Linked DNA regions of Homo sapiens: all the other regions are linked to region 1. Evidence: promoter capture Hi-C in human tissues and cell types (Jung and others, 2019). All regions are on one chromosome and are shown on one strand. Each heading gives the region's core, a stretch centred on a gene start or on the middle of the fragment in contact. The rest is flanking DNA. Distances are from core to core; before and after follow the strand shown.

Region 1 (3,064 bases), core at 156-2,655:
GGATTACAGGCATAAGCCACCATGCCTGGCCTCAAATGTCATGTTTTTGAAGCTGCTCTTCTCACTCCTCAAGCCAAATAAGCCTCCCATCATAGCACCTATCTCATCATCCAAGTAATGCCAGCATGGTGAACCCTACTACTGTCACAGCTCAGGTCTACCTGTTCCCCATGTGATTTCCCTGGAGATATGCCATGTCTGATCTCCTTCTGTGTCACCCCAAGTGCCTGGGGCTGCACTTGGCACTTAGCAGGCAGTTTGTTAAATTGAATTTGAGTTGCATGTTATTCCAAAATGTGTATCCCGCCTGGGTCTATTCCTCAGGAACTCCCTAACTCTTACTCAACTCTCTGCTTTCTGAGCCTCCTTGCTCCAGCCTTCCCTGGTCTGTCAGGTTGGGCTGCCCTTGCCTGGAGAAGTTCCTGTTTGGGCTGTCTAGGGAGGTAGCAGCATTTGTCTGCTACACCCTTCTTCCTGCACCACCCCACTCAGTTTCTTCCACATTCTGGCACACCCCACTCCAGCATGGACACTGCCCAGGGAAGTGTCCCCATTTCTTTCTTTCTCCAAACTCTAGACATAGCACCTATCTTGGAGGCCTGGTATCTGGATGTCCCTTGGCCTCTCCCAGGAAGTATAAACTGTCTTCTTGGTGGGTACAGCAGCTCACTTGATATTTACAGCACACAGTGGACCCAGGGACAGACTGCATTCCAAAGAGCTTCTGAAAGTGTTAATCTTGGCATTGGTGAACTCCTTTAGGGAGTGAGTGGCACTTACAGCCATGGCTCCCGGGCCCTGGTACGCCTCTTGATCCACTCCATTTTGAGGCAGGGCTGTATCAGACCAAGCTATTGGGAGTCTGTTTTTACCTTGGGGAGTGCATTCTGGCAGTGCCATCTCGGACATGGCAGGCAGTACCTGGTCTGGACTGAGCCTGGGGCACCATCCAGCAGGGCCCTGTGTGTGCCTCTGCAGAGCCACCTTGGGAGGAGGCGGCCAGTAAGACTTAATTGCTTCCTTTAGACAGCACTACCTTGAACACAGCCTGCAGAGTTCGGTGCCTGCCTTGGACAGCCCCTCTTCTATACGTTCATCATGACCCTGGTGCCTGTCCTAGGCAGTGCCACTCAGCCCCTTTCGGACCCTTTTCGGACAGCCTCCAGTGCCCAGTGCAGACAGAAACTCCAGGCAGGGCCTCTCTCAGACACAGCGAGAGGGGCTTCGGAGTCCACAGCGGACGGAGGCTGCCAGGGCAGCGCCCGGCCCGCCTGGCCCACGTCTGGCGGCGCGCACTGGCGCTGCCAGGCAGGCCGGGCGTTTATCCCCACAGCCGCCAGCAGGGAGCTCCCTTTCGGCTCGGCCTGCGCGGTCGCTGGGGGCGGCGCTGAGCTGCGCCGCGCTGCGCTCTGCTCCATCCCTGACCGGGCCGAGGCTGCTGGATGCCGCGTCTCCGCTTCTGCTGCCTGCCGGGCGGGCTCCGGTGGCCGGTGAGTGCCGGTCGGCGGCGGCGGCCGCTCGGTGGCGGGCCCGGCTTGGTGGGGCGGCGGGGCGGGCTCCGGCCGGGAGGGAGGGCGGGCGGGCGGCGGGGCCCGCCGGCTCCTCCTCCTCCTCCCCCGTCCCCTGGAAGCAGCGGCCCGGACTCCCGGCTCCCGTCCCTGGCGGCGCCGTGGAGCTCGACGCCCGGGGGTGGGGGCCGATCGGGAGCGGCGGGGAAGGGGGAACCACCGGCCCTTCCAGCCAACCTGGGGGGCGCAGGGAGGCAGGACAGGGTGGCCTTCAGTGTGGGGGGATTTGGGGCTTGGAGGCGCCCAGGTGGCCCGGAGCTGCGGGGTGGGGGCTGCAGCCTCGAGGGTGGGGGGACTTCTCCTGCCCCCGTCCAGGCCCCACGATGGAGCGAGCGAGAGAGCGGGGCGCTGAGGAAGGCAGCGGGGAAGGGGAGCACCTCTACCGACCCTTTTATCCCTCCCAGCGGCCTTCACTCTTTCACTGCCGGGCAGACTGCGGGCTCCTCTCAAAGGAGCAGCTGCTAGACAGCTGGCAAAACAATGGAGACCCCGCTTCCCTGGGCCCCCTCCTCTTGGGACAGAAGATGAGAGGGTGAATGGTGGCAGGCTTTGGGGATTAGGGAGTGCAGGCTGTGCCCTGAGACTGAATGCTCACCTCACCTTTCCCTGCAGAGGGGTGGGGTGCGTGTGGGAAGGTCGGACAAGCTGCCCCAGGCCTCTGGAGAGACCGCCCCGACGCCCCGCCCTGCTAACCTGTCATGCCAGTTGTTTCGCCAATGGGAAGGGGAGGTGGTAGGGGTGGCTGCCCCCTCACCCTGCCCCTTGTTAGTGGGGGTGCGCTCCTTGGTCCCAAACCCGGCCAGGAGTGTGGGTCATGTTCCTGGGTGCGATAAGGCCCGCAGGGACAGGCCAGGCATTGGGGCTTTGTTTTGGGGGTGGAGATGGGGGAGTTGCCCTACTGCAAGGCACATGTGTCTTGCTGATTAGTTGGAAAGGTTGCGGCCAGAATGAGCTAGAGGTGGGGGGTGGGGGAGATGGGGAGGAAGACAGCCAGTTTGTTTTTGAGCGGGTATTCATTTTGCCTGACCACTTTGCCAATGGGGCATGTGTTTGGCGCTGGCCTCATAGTTTGTATTTGTGTGGGGAGGGCTGGGGGAATGCTTCCTGAGAGGGACTGTCCTGGCTAGGGCTTTCATTCCCTCAGATGGCCACCCCGAATTAAAGAATTGGATTCCCTCCCTGCTTCACCCTGCCAATGACTTGGGCTAGTTAGTGTGGGTTCGTCTTGTCTTTTGGAGCCCCTGGCGTGTCTGTGGCCGAGAAGGCCTCATCAGTGCCCCTGTGGCAAGTGAGCTCTGGGAAGTGTGTATGCACTGGGGTGTGCTGGAAGGGAGGGGAGGCCACCTGGGTGATTAAGAGCAAGATCACCTGAGCAGGACGGTGAGTACAGAGCCCATTGAATCAGCCGCCTTTCCCTTGTGCTTTGGAGCCCTTTTCTTGAGCAGGTTGGTGCCCTGTTGTTGTGGCAACAGGCCTGGCCTAATGTTCCCCACCCT
Region 2 (3,064 bases), core at 330-2,829, 250 kb after region 1:
GAAATGGGGTCTCACCATGTTGCCCAGCCTGGCCTCTAACTCCTGGGGTCAAGTAGTCCTCCCACCTTAGCCTCCCAAAGTGCTGGGATTACAGATATGAGCTACAGCCTGGCCTAGACTACTTTTTTGATGGGGTAGATGATAATTTGTTTGCTTTGCGTTCATTTTTCAGTGTGGTACCTAGTACATTGATGAGAAAGTCATGGGTACTCAATAAATATTGACTGATGTAGAAGGAAATGCGCAGCCTTGAGGTTAAGGAGGGTACCCTGATGGATATTTCACTGTGTACCCCAGAAATAAGAAGACTACTAAAGGTTCTTAAAAAACAACTTGGGCTCTGAAGCATATCCTGAGAGTGAACCAAAAACAAAACAACAACAACAAAAATAGCTTAGGCTCAAGATTTCAAAGAGCCAGGAAACTTTGATTTGGGTTCCAGTTCTGCTACTTAGTGGCTTTAGATAAGTCAGTTTCCTCACCTGTATGATGGGAATAAGAATTATCTCACAGTATGGTAGTGAAGATCAAATAAGAACATCTGTTAAAATACTTTGTGAACTGTAATACCTAGATGTCAATGAAATTATCACTATGCTATTTCTAGGCTTTAGTTTAAGAAACACATTGATGTCTTTACAAAAGCAGCATTGTCTCATTATAGTGTTTTCACTGCTAAGCAGCTGAAACTCTGGTAGAGTAATCTCAGTGTTACGTGACTTTTAACTTTTAATGATTTTTTCTTATAAAGGACGGCCTCCAGGACCCTGTCTTCATTGATACATGAGGATGAGAGGGAGCGAGGGCAGAGCCTTTTTTTCTTGACAGGCATATCATGATTTAAAGACTCTGGTGTGCATGTAATTGTTTTCAGAGTTGCACGCTAGGCTTATGGGAATACCATTCTTCCAAGGAAGAAGGGGTTTTTGTTTTTGTTTTTGGGAAGAATCTCCTGTCACCCAGGCTAGAGTGCAGTGATGCGGTCTCGGCTCACTGCAACCTCCACCTCCTGGGTTCAAGCAATTCTCTTGCCTCAGCTTCCCCAGTAGCTGGGACTACAAGTGCACACCACCACACCCAGCCAATTTTTGTGTTTTTAGTAGAGACAGGGTTTTGCCATGTTGGCCAGGCTGGTCTCGAATTCCTGACCTAAAGTGACCCACCCACCTTGGCCTCCCAAAGTGCTGGGATTACAGGCGTGAGCCACCACACCCAGCTGCGGAAGGAGTTTTGAGATGGGCAGCTGAGGTGGGGAGTCCTCAGAATAAGTACATGAGTACCGTGAGGCTGCAGAATCTCCTTTCTCCCTGGAATCCTTTCCCTGTCAGCAGTATTTCTGATATGGAGCAAAACAGCCTCTTTCAGAATTGGTTCCTGAGCTTACCCCAATGACAGTGTCTTTCCTGGAACCATTTCATGAATCCCTTTCCTCTAAAAAATTTGCATTGAGCCAGGCGTGTTGGCTCACACGTGTAATCCCAGCACTTTGGAAGGCAGAGGCAAGCGGACCATTTGAGCCCAGGAGTTCAAGACCCAGCCTTCGGCAACATAGTGAAACCCTATTTCTACAAAAAATATAAAATTTAGCCCAGCGTAGTGGTATGCGCCTGTGGTCCCAGCTACTCGGGAGGCTGAGGTGGGAGGACTGCTTGAGCCTAGGGGGTCAAGGCTTCAGTGAGCCAAGATTGCCCCACTGCACTCCAGCCTGGGTGACAGAGTGAGACCCTGCCTCAAAAAAAAGATAGAAGTTTGAATTGAAAAGCTGCCTTCTAAATAGCTTGAAAGGAATTAATTGCTTGAAGCAGAGAGGAAACATGGTCATGAGAAAGCTTTATGATGGGTGATTCTTGTGTTCCAGCTATGCCTATGATGATCATTTTCTAAGACCTTTCTTTCCTATCCATCTAATCTTAGATATTACTGCCTTCTCCCAAGATACCATCATTTCAAATTTGTTATTTCAAGATGCATGTTCTGTCCCTAAGAAAGCAGCAAATCTTGGCCAGGCACAGTGGCTCACACCTGTAATCCCAGTACTTTGGGAGGCCGAGGTAGGCAGATTACTTGAGGTCAGGAGTTCGAGACCAGCCTGGCCAACATGGTGAAACCCCATCTCTAAAAAAAAAACAAAAATTAGCTGGACATGGGGGCAGGCACCTGTAATCCCAGCTACTCGGGAGGCTGAGGCAGGAGAATCACTTGAACCCAGGAGGCAGAGGTTGCAGTGAGCCGAGATCACGCCACTGAACTCCAGCTTGGGTGATACGGTGAGACTACATCTCAAAACAAACAAAAAAAAAGCAGATCTTAAGAAGTGATGGCCTCAGCCAGGTGCAGTGGCTCACGCCTGTAATCCCAGTACTTTGGGAGGCTGAGGTGGGTGGATCACTTGAGGTTAGGAGGTCAAGACCAGCCTGGCCAACATGGTGAAACCCCATCTCTACTAAAAATATAAAAATTAGCCGGGTGTGATGGCGGGCAACCTGTAATCCCAGCTACTCGGGAGGCTGAGGCAAGGGAATCGCTTGAACCCTGGAGGCAGAGGTTGCAGTGAGCCAAGATCGCGCCACTGCACTCCAGCCTGGGCAACTGAGCAAGACTCCGTCTCAAAAAAAAAAAAAAAAAGGAATGATGGCCTCAGTCTTTTAAATGTTTTGTCTTCATCTGGGAGACAATGCTTGGGTTTCCCTGGACTACTCCCTAAATTCATAGCCCCTATCCATACTTTAGGGCAGGCTTAACAAAGGGAGCCTGTGGTCATTATCTAGAGTTCTGAGGAATGTGTGGTTTTGTTTGTTTGTTTTTTGTTGTTGTTATTTTTGAGACAGGGTCTCACTCTGTTGCCCAAACTGGAGTGCAGTGGCACGATCACGGCTCTACCTCCCAGGCTCAAGTGATCCTCTCACCTCAGCCCCACAAGTAGCTGGGGCTATAGGCTCATGCCGCCTCACCTGGCTAATTTTTTGTATTTTTAGTAGAGGTGGGGTTTCACCATGTCGCCCAGGCTGGTCTTGAACTCCTGGGCTCAAGCAATCCACCCACCTCGGCCTCACAAAGTGCTGGT
Region 3 (3,064 bases), core at 368-2,867, 210 kb after region 1:
GGCTCATAGCCCCTACCTTGCCTGCCTTTCTCCCAAGCATATTGTAGACATCAAGAAAGAAGAGTGTGAAGGCATTTTAGAATCTGGAAAGTACATGTAGATGTGAGGTGCTATTATTAATCAAGATTACAAACAATAACAGCAGGCTGATGTCTTAGGCATTTGTTCAGGAACTGCACATATGTCTTCTCACTTAACCTCCACAACCTTGGATGTAATACTGAAAGTGGGTGGATAAATGAGGCAACTGAGGCACAGAGAATTTAGGTAACTTGCCCACGGTGGCACAGCACGTAGGGAAGAAGCCTGCATTCAAACCCAGGCAGTCTGACCCACAGCCCACCTGCTAAGCACTGCCCTGTACTGCCTGCCAAGCACAACTAGCCACTTACCGACCATTCTCTCCAGAGCCCCATGAGAGACAGAAGAGGAGGAATTCTCCTCCCACTTTCACAGACATAGTAACAGGACAGGTGAAAGTCATAAAACTCAAATTTCTGGACCCTGGTCTGCCCTGAGACAGCCTCTTTTTCTTTTTCTTTTTCTTTTTAATGGGGGGGAAGAAAGAGGGCCCATTTTTCTATTCACACAAAGGCACCCAGGAACAGAGGCCTTGCATGGACCTCTCCTCCCATTTACCTGATACCATCAGTGGGGCTGCCCCCTACCCCAAGACCCAAGATCTTCAGTCTAGACAGTCCTCACTTTTCCTACCACCCCAAGGGTTATCAGGCTCTGTAGCACAAGCCTCTCAGCCTCTCCTTGACCCCTCCAGGCCTTTGCTCTCACCTCTTAGACGCAAGCCAGGATCTTCACTTTTTTTTGAGAAAGAGTCTCACTCTGCCGCCCAGGCTGGAGTGCAGTAGCGCAATCTCCACTCACTGCAACCTCTGCCTCCCGAGTTCAAGCGATTCTCCTGCCTCAGCCTCCCAAGTAACTGGGACTACAGGCGCGTGCCACCATGCCCAGATCATTTTTTTTTTTTTTGTATTTTTAGTAGAGATGGGGTTTTACCATGTTAGCTGGTCTCGAACTCCTGATTTTGTTATCCACCTGCCTCGGCCTCCCAAAGTGCTGGGATTACAGGTGTGAGCCACCGTGCCCAGCTGGATCTTCACTTTTATTTTATTTTATTTTATTTTATTTATTTATTTTATTTTTTGGAACATGGAGTCTCACTCTGTCGCCCAGGCTGGAGTGCAATGGCATGATATCGACTCACTGCAACCTCCATCTCCCCGGTCCAAGCGATTCTCCTGCCTCAGCCTCCCGAGTAGCTGGGATAACAGGCGCCTGCCACCATGCCCAGCTAATATTTTTGTATTTTATTAGTAGAGATGGGGTTTTGCCATGTTGGCCAGGCTGGTCTTGAACTCTTGACCTCAGGCCATCCGTCCACCTCAGCCTCCCAAAGTGCTGGGATTACAGGCGTGAGCCACTGCACCGGGTTGATCCTTTTAGCTACCACCCCAGCTTGACCCCAGGATCGGGATATGCCAGATTGTTTTGTAGGATTTGCTGCCACCATTTGGTCAAATTTGGTATGACAATTCCAAAGCTACCAGCTTTCCCAGGGCAACTTGTTCTTTCCCCAACTTCCATGAAGGCAGTGCACTGCCTCCCTACCCTCGTCCCCATCTTTTTCTTGTTTGTTTGATGTTGTTTTTCGAAACAGGGACTCACTCTGTCACCTAGGCTGGAGCGCAGTGGTGCAATCATAGTTCACTGCAGCCTTAAACTCCTAGGCTCAAGCGATCCCACTTCAGCCTCCTGAGTAGCTAAGACTACAGGTACACATCACCATGCCTGGGTATTTTTTAAAAATTTTTTACAGAGATGGGGACCTCACTATGTTGCCCAGGCTGCTCTTGAACTCCTGGCCTCAAGCAATCCTCCCACCTTGCCCCAGCCTACCACCATTCTGGATTTTGTTTGTTTGTAAGTTTGTTTTTTTGAGATGAAGTCTCGCTCTCGTCCCCTAGGCTGGAGCGCAATGGCACGATCTCGGCTCACTGCAACCTCCACCTGCCGGGTTCAAGCGATTCTCCTGCCTCAGCCTCCCGAGTAGCTGGGATTACAGGCGCCTGCCATCACGTCCGGCTGATTTTTGTATTTTTAGTAGAGATGGGGTTTCTCCATGTTGGCCAGGCTGGTCTCGACCTCCTGACCTCAGGTGATCCGCCCACTTCGGCCTCCCAAAGTGCTGGGATTACAGGCATGAGCCACCACTCCCGGCTGTTTGTTTGTTTTGAGATGGAGTTTTGCTCTCGTTGCCCAAGCAGGAATGCAATGGAGTGATCTCAGCTCACCACAACCTCCACCTCCCGGGTTCAAGCGATTCTCCTGCCTCAGCCTCCCCCGTAGCTGGGATTACAGGCATGCGCCACCATGCCCGGCTAATTTTGTATTTTTAGTAGAGACGGGGTTTATCCATGTTGGTCAGGCTTGTCTCGAACTCCCGACCTCAGGTGATCCGCCCACCTCGGCCTCCCAAAGTGCTGGGATTACAGGCATGAGACACCGGCCCGGCCACCATTCTGGTTTTAAAAGAAGTCCATGGCCATTGGCATCAAGCTTTTTAGCATTTCTCAGTGAATACTGGGAAAGCCTTTACTGTCTGATTTCACTCTTTGCTGCTGCAATTCATATTTATTCCCTAAAGGAAAAACAGTATCAACACTTTACATCTGTATAGGTTTTTCACTATTTCAAGTGCTTTCATGTCTACGAGTCATTCAATAAGCATTTCCTGAAGATATAATATCAGCTGGGTACCAGAGATACCAAGCTAGATAAAATACTCTATCATTTCTTCTCACAGTAACCCTGTAGGTAGGCTAGGATTTTAAACCTCATTTAACAAATGAGGAAACACACACACAAAGATTAAATAACCTGCCTAAAGTGTCATAAAGCTTGAGCCAGAACCTAACCCTTCTAATTTCCAGCTCTGTCTGCTCCACTAACCAGCCCAGGCTGCTGGAAATATCACTGGTAACCTTCTAGGGAGGAGATTGGAGTTGTTTTGGAACTCCTAGTGCTTCCTCTGGCCCCAAATGACACC
Region 4 (3,064 bases), core at 312-2,811, 150 kb after region 1:
TAAAATTTTTAATTTGCTGAATTCTCTTTTTTCGTTGTCTCTGACTCTTCTCAACTCTTGTCTTTTACTGTCTTTCTGATGGCTGAACGCTTTCTCTCTTTGCCTCTCCCCTTTTCCTTGATTTTTCTGCCTGTTTCAGCTCTTGCCTTGGATATGTGTGTGTGTGTGTGTGTGTGTGTGTGTGTGTGTGTGTGTCTCCTTTCCCCATCCATGGCCAAATCCTGCCTCATGACTTGGGTAGGAGGCTGAGATCTGGACAGCGAGGACCCACCTAGTTAAGGGAAAAAGAGGACAAAGAACTGCCTCTCCCAGCCTTTGCCTTCTAGGGAGTGGCTATGATTCAGCTAAAGAAAGAAAAAGAGGAATAAATCAAGGGAAGGAGGGGGAAAATGGACTATGGAGGGAGGACAGGAGATCAAAGACCAAGGAAGTAAGGAGGAAGAGAAAGCCCCCGCTGCTTCCGCAAATCAATTCCTGGCAATGCCTGCCTCTTCGTCTGTGCTCTAAGCTCCTGAGCAGAATGCCACCTCTGTGGGATGCCAGGCCTGAACAGAAGGGCTCTGGGGCACTGGGCAGGCATGCAGGCCAGGCTGCAGGGACCCCAGGCCTGCCTTGCCCTGAAGAGAGAGGTCTCCCTTCCCCAGGACCACCCTCTCACCATCCACACTTGAAGTCCTCTCCAAAATCTAGTTTCACCGCTTGCTTTGGCAGACTCCTTCCTCCTGTTCCAAACTTGGGAATTCTGAGGTGTCTCTTGGCTGCTGCGCATAAGTCCCAGTTCACAGCTGCAACTTGGGGGACTGAGGGTGGACACAATGAGCAGCTTCCCCACAGGGAGTCAGCAGAGGAAGGAGGCTGGGAAACTGAAGTATAGGAATGAGTGACTTAGGATGGAGACGCACTGCTAGTTATTAGGAACATCCCTCTCACTCCTCGGTCCCTTGTTCCTTCCCCAGTGGGGACTATCCACTCTGTTTCCCTCCCAGAGATGTCATCTCTCTTGGTGCTCTCCCACATGCGAAAGTGTGCTGCTGGTTACTGAGGGAATGGGCGTTTCCTGTACTGGCCATTACAGGAGATAAAAGAGCCACCCAAATCAGTGAAGTCCATGGGAATGAGAGGACCTACTAGAAACCACACACTCTGTACCCTTTGATCAACAGTTCCTCTCTCTCCAACCCCCTCCCTGAGCCTGTGGTGACCATCATTTTTTTTTTTTGAGTTTCGCTCTTGTCACCCAGGCTGGAGTACAGCGGTGCAATCTTGGCTCACTGCAACGTCAGCCTCTTGGGTTCAAGTGATTCTCCTGTCTCCGCCTCCCAAGTAGCTGGGATTACAGGTGCCTACCACCATGCCCGGCTAATTTTTTGTATTTTTTAGTAGAGATGGGGCTTCTCCATGTTGGTCAGGCTGGTCTCAAACTCCTGACCTCAGGTGATCCGCCCGCCTCAGCCTCCCAGAGTGCTGGGATTACAGGCATGAGCCACCGCGCCCAGCCACCATTATTCCACTCTCTACTTCCATGACTTTAACTTTTTTGGATTTCACATATAAGTGAGATCATGTGATGGATTTGTTAATTAGCCTGACTTAATCATTCCACATTGTAAACATATATTGAAACATCAGGCCGGGCACAGTGGCTCATGTCTGTAACCCCAAAACTTTGGGAGGCTGAGAAGAGAGGACCGCTTGAGGCCAGGAGTTTGAGACCAGTCTGAGCAACAAAGCAAGACCCCCATCTCTACAAAAAATAAAACAAAATAAAATTAGCCAGGCACGGTGCGGCATGCCTGTGGTCCCAGCTACTCAGGAGGCTAAGGCGGGAGGACTGCTAGGAGTTCGAGACTGCTGGGAACTATAATCGCACCACTGCACTCCAGCCTGGGTGACAGTGGGACCCTGTCTCTAAAATAAAAATAAAATAAAAGTATCACAATGTACCCCATAAATATATATACAATTATTATTTGTCAATTAAAAATAAAATTTTAATCTGGGCACAGTGGCACATGCATATAGTCCCAACTTCTCAGGGGCTGAGGTGGGAAGATCACTTGATCCCAGGAGTTCAAATCTAGCCTAAGCAATGCAGCAAGACCCCATCTCTTAAAAAGCAAACAAACCAACCAATACTTTTTTTTTTTAATTTAGAAAAAAGAAGAACTCAGGCAAAAGACCTGGTGGAATCTGATATGCATCAACGGTACTCTGGGGGGTCTCAGGGAAGCTTCCACGAATGAGGGTTATGTGGCGGGGTCTGATGGTGGCGCCCCAAGCCAGGCTGGGCAGGGGAGGAAGAGGGCTAGGAAATAAGGTGGACTGGAACAGAGATGGTCGTCCCAAGAGGGGAGATGAAATAGGTTCAAGGCCAGCTGGGAGGGGTGGCTGCTACCAGACTGTGGAATAGAAATAGGCTGGGAATAAGAGCTCATACACACGTAGACCAGCTCATTGAAGTGGGAAAAATACAAATGAGCTAATACACACAGTGCATCCTATGCTCCAGGAATTGCTCTGAGAACCGGAGTATATTTACTTATTTAATCTCACCACAATCCTATGGAGTCGGTACTATTGTTAACACCTCCATTTTACACACGAGGAAAGTGAGGCTTGGTGAGAGGATTCAGAACACAGCCGCCTTCCTCCAGAGTCTGTGCTCGTAACCACCCTCCTCCAGAATAGGAGCCTAGGTAGGCAAAGTCATGAAGACTCAGGGAGGGGGAGAATGGCACTGCACTTAAGAACGTGAACTTCTGGACCCGGTAGCCTGACTCTTACCCTCGGTCTGACCTTGGATAGGATCCTTAGCACTAAGGTCGGCCTGCAGAGAGACACGAAGAGTGACTGGAAGCATGTTGGTAAAAACACAGGCACAGTGCTGTCCCTGAGCTCAGTCAGGGGAAGTTTTTTTTTTGTTTTTTTTGAGATGGAGTCTCCCTCTGTTGCCCAGGCTAGAGTGCAGTGGCATGATCTCGGCTCACTGCAAGCTCCACTTCTTGGGTTCACGCCATTCTCCTGCCTCAGCCTCCCAAGTAGCTGGGACTACAGGCGCCTGCCA

What was found. Contacts are between HindIII fragments. The study calls those that stand out against the background at their distance.
Region 2: a fragment that was not itself captured here is called in contact with the fragment with the promoter of MYO18A in region 1 in 2 of the 25 tissues and cell types used here (H1 embryonic stem cells and dorsolateral prefrontal cortex).
Region 3: a contact is called between a fragment that was not itself captured here and the fragment with the promoter of MYO18A in region 1, in 1 of the 25 tissues and cell types used here (adrenal gland).
Region 4: a contact is called between a fragment that was not itself captured here and the fragment with the promoter of MYO18A in region 1, in 2 of the 25 tissues and cell types used here (IMR-90 fibroblasts and lymphoblastoid cells).

Annotation. Positions count from the first base shown.
Region 1 is chr17:29,178,739-29,181,802 of GRCh38, reverse strand. It overlaps MYO18A (myosin XVIIIA), which reads left to right and starts at 1,405. Exons shown (of 42, transcript NM_078471.4): 1 at 1,405-1,490. RefSeq lists silencers at 1,326-1,546, 1,512-1,561, 1,682-1,731. The HindIII fragment of the contact is 14,487 bases long and covers 1-3,064 here.
Region 2 is chr17:28,930,818-28,933,881 of GRCh38, reverse strand. The region is part of intron 2 of PHF12 (PHD finger protein 12); the gene reads left to right. The region is part of intron 1 of LOC101927018 (a long non-coding RNA gene); the gene reads right to left. Among named protein-coding and RNA genes, the nearest start is that of PHF12, 19 kb to the left of the region's middle. The HindIII fragment of the contact is 7,253 bases long and covers 1-3,064 here.
Region 3 is chr17:28,964,243-28,967,306 of GRCh38, reverse strand. The region is part of intron 4 of SEZ6 (seizure related 6 homolog); the gene reads left to right. The region is part of intron 1 of LOC105371716 (a long non-coding RNA gene); the gene reads right to left. Among named protein-coding and RNA genes, the nearest start is that of PHF12, 14 kb to the right of the region's middle. The HindIII fragment of the contact is 3,586 bases long and covers 1-3,064 here.
Region 4 is chr17:29,025,167-29,028,230 of GRCh38, reverse strand. No RefSeq gene overlaps it. Among named protein-coding and RNA genes, the nearest start is that of PIPOX, 16 kb to the left of the region's middle. The HindIII fragment of the contact is 5,150 bases long and covers 1-3,064 here.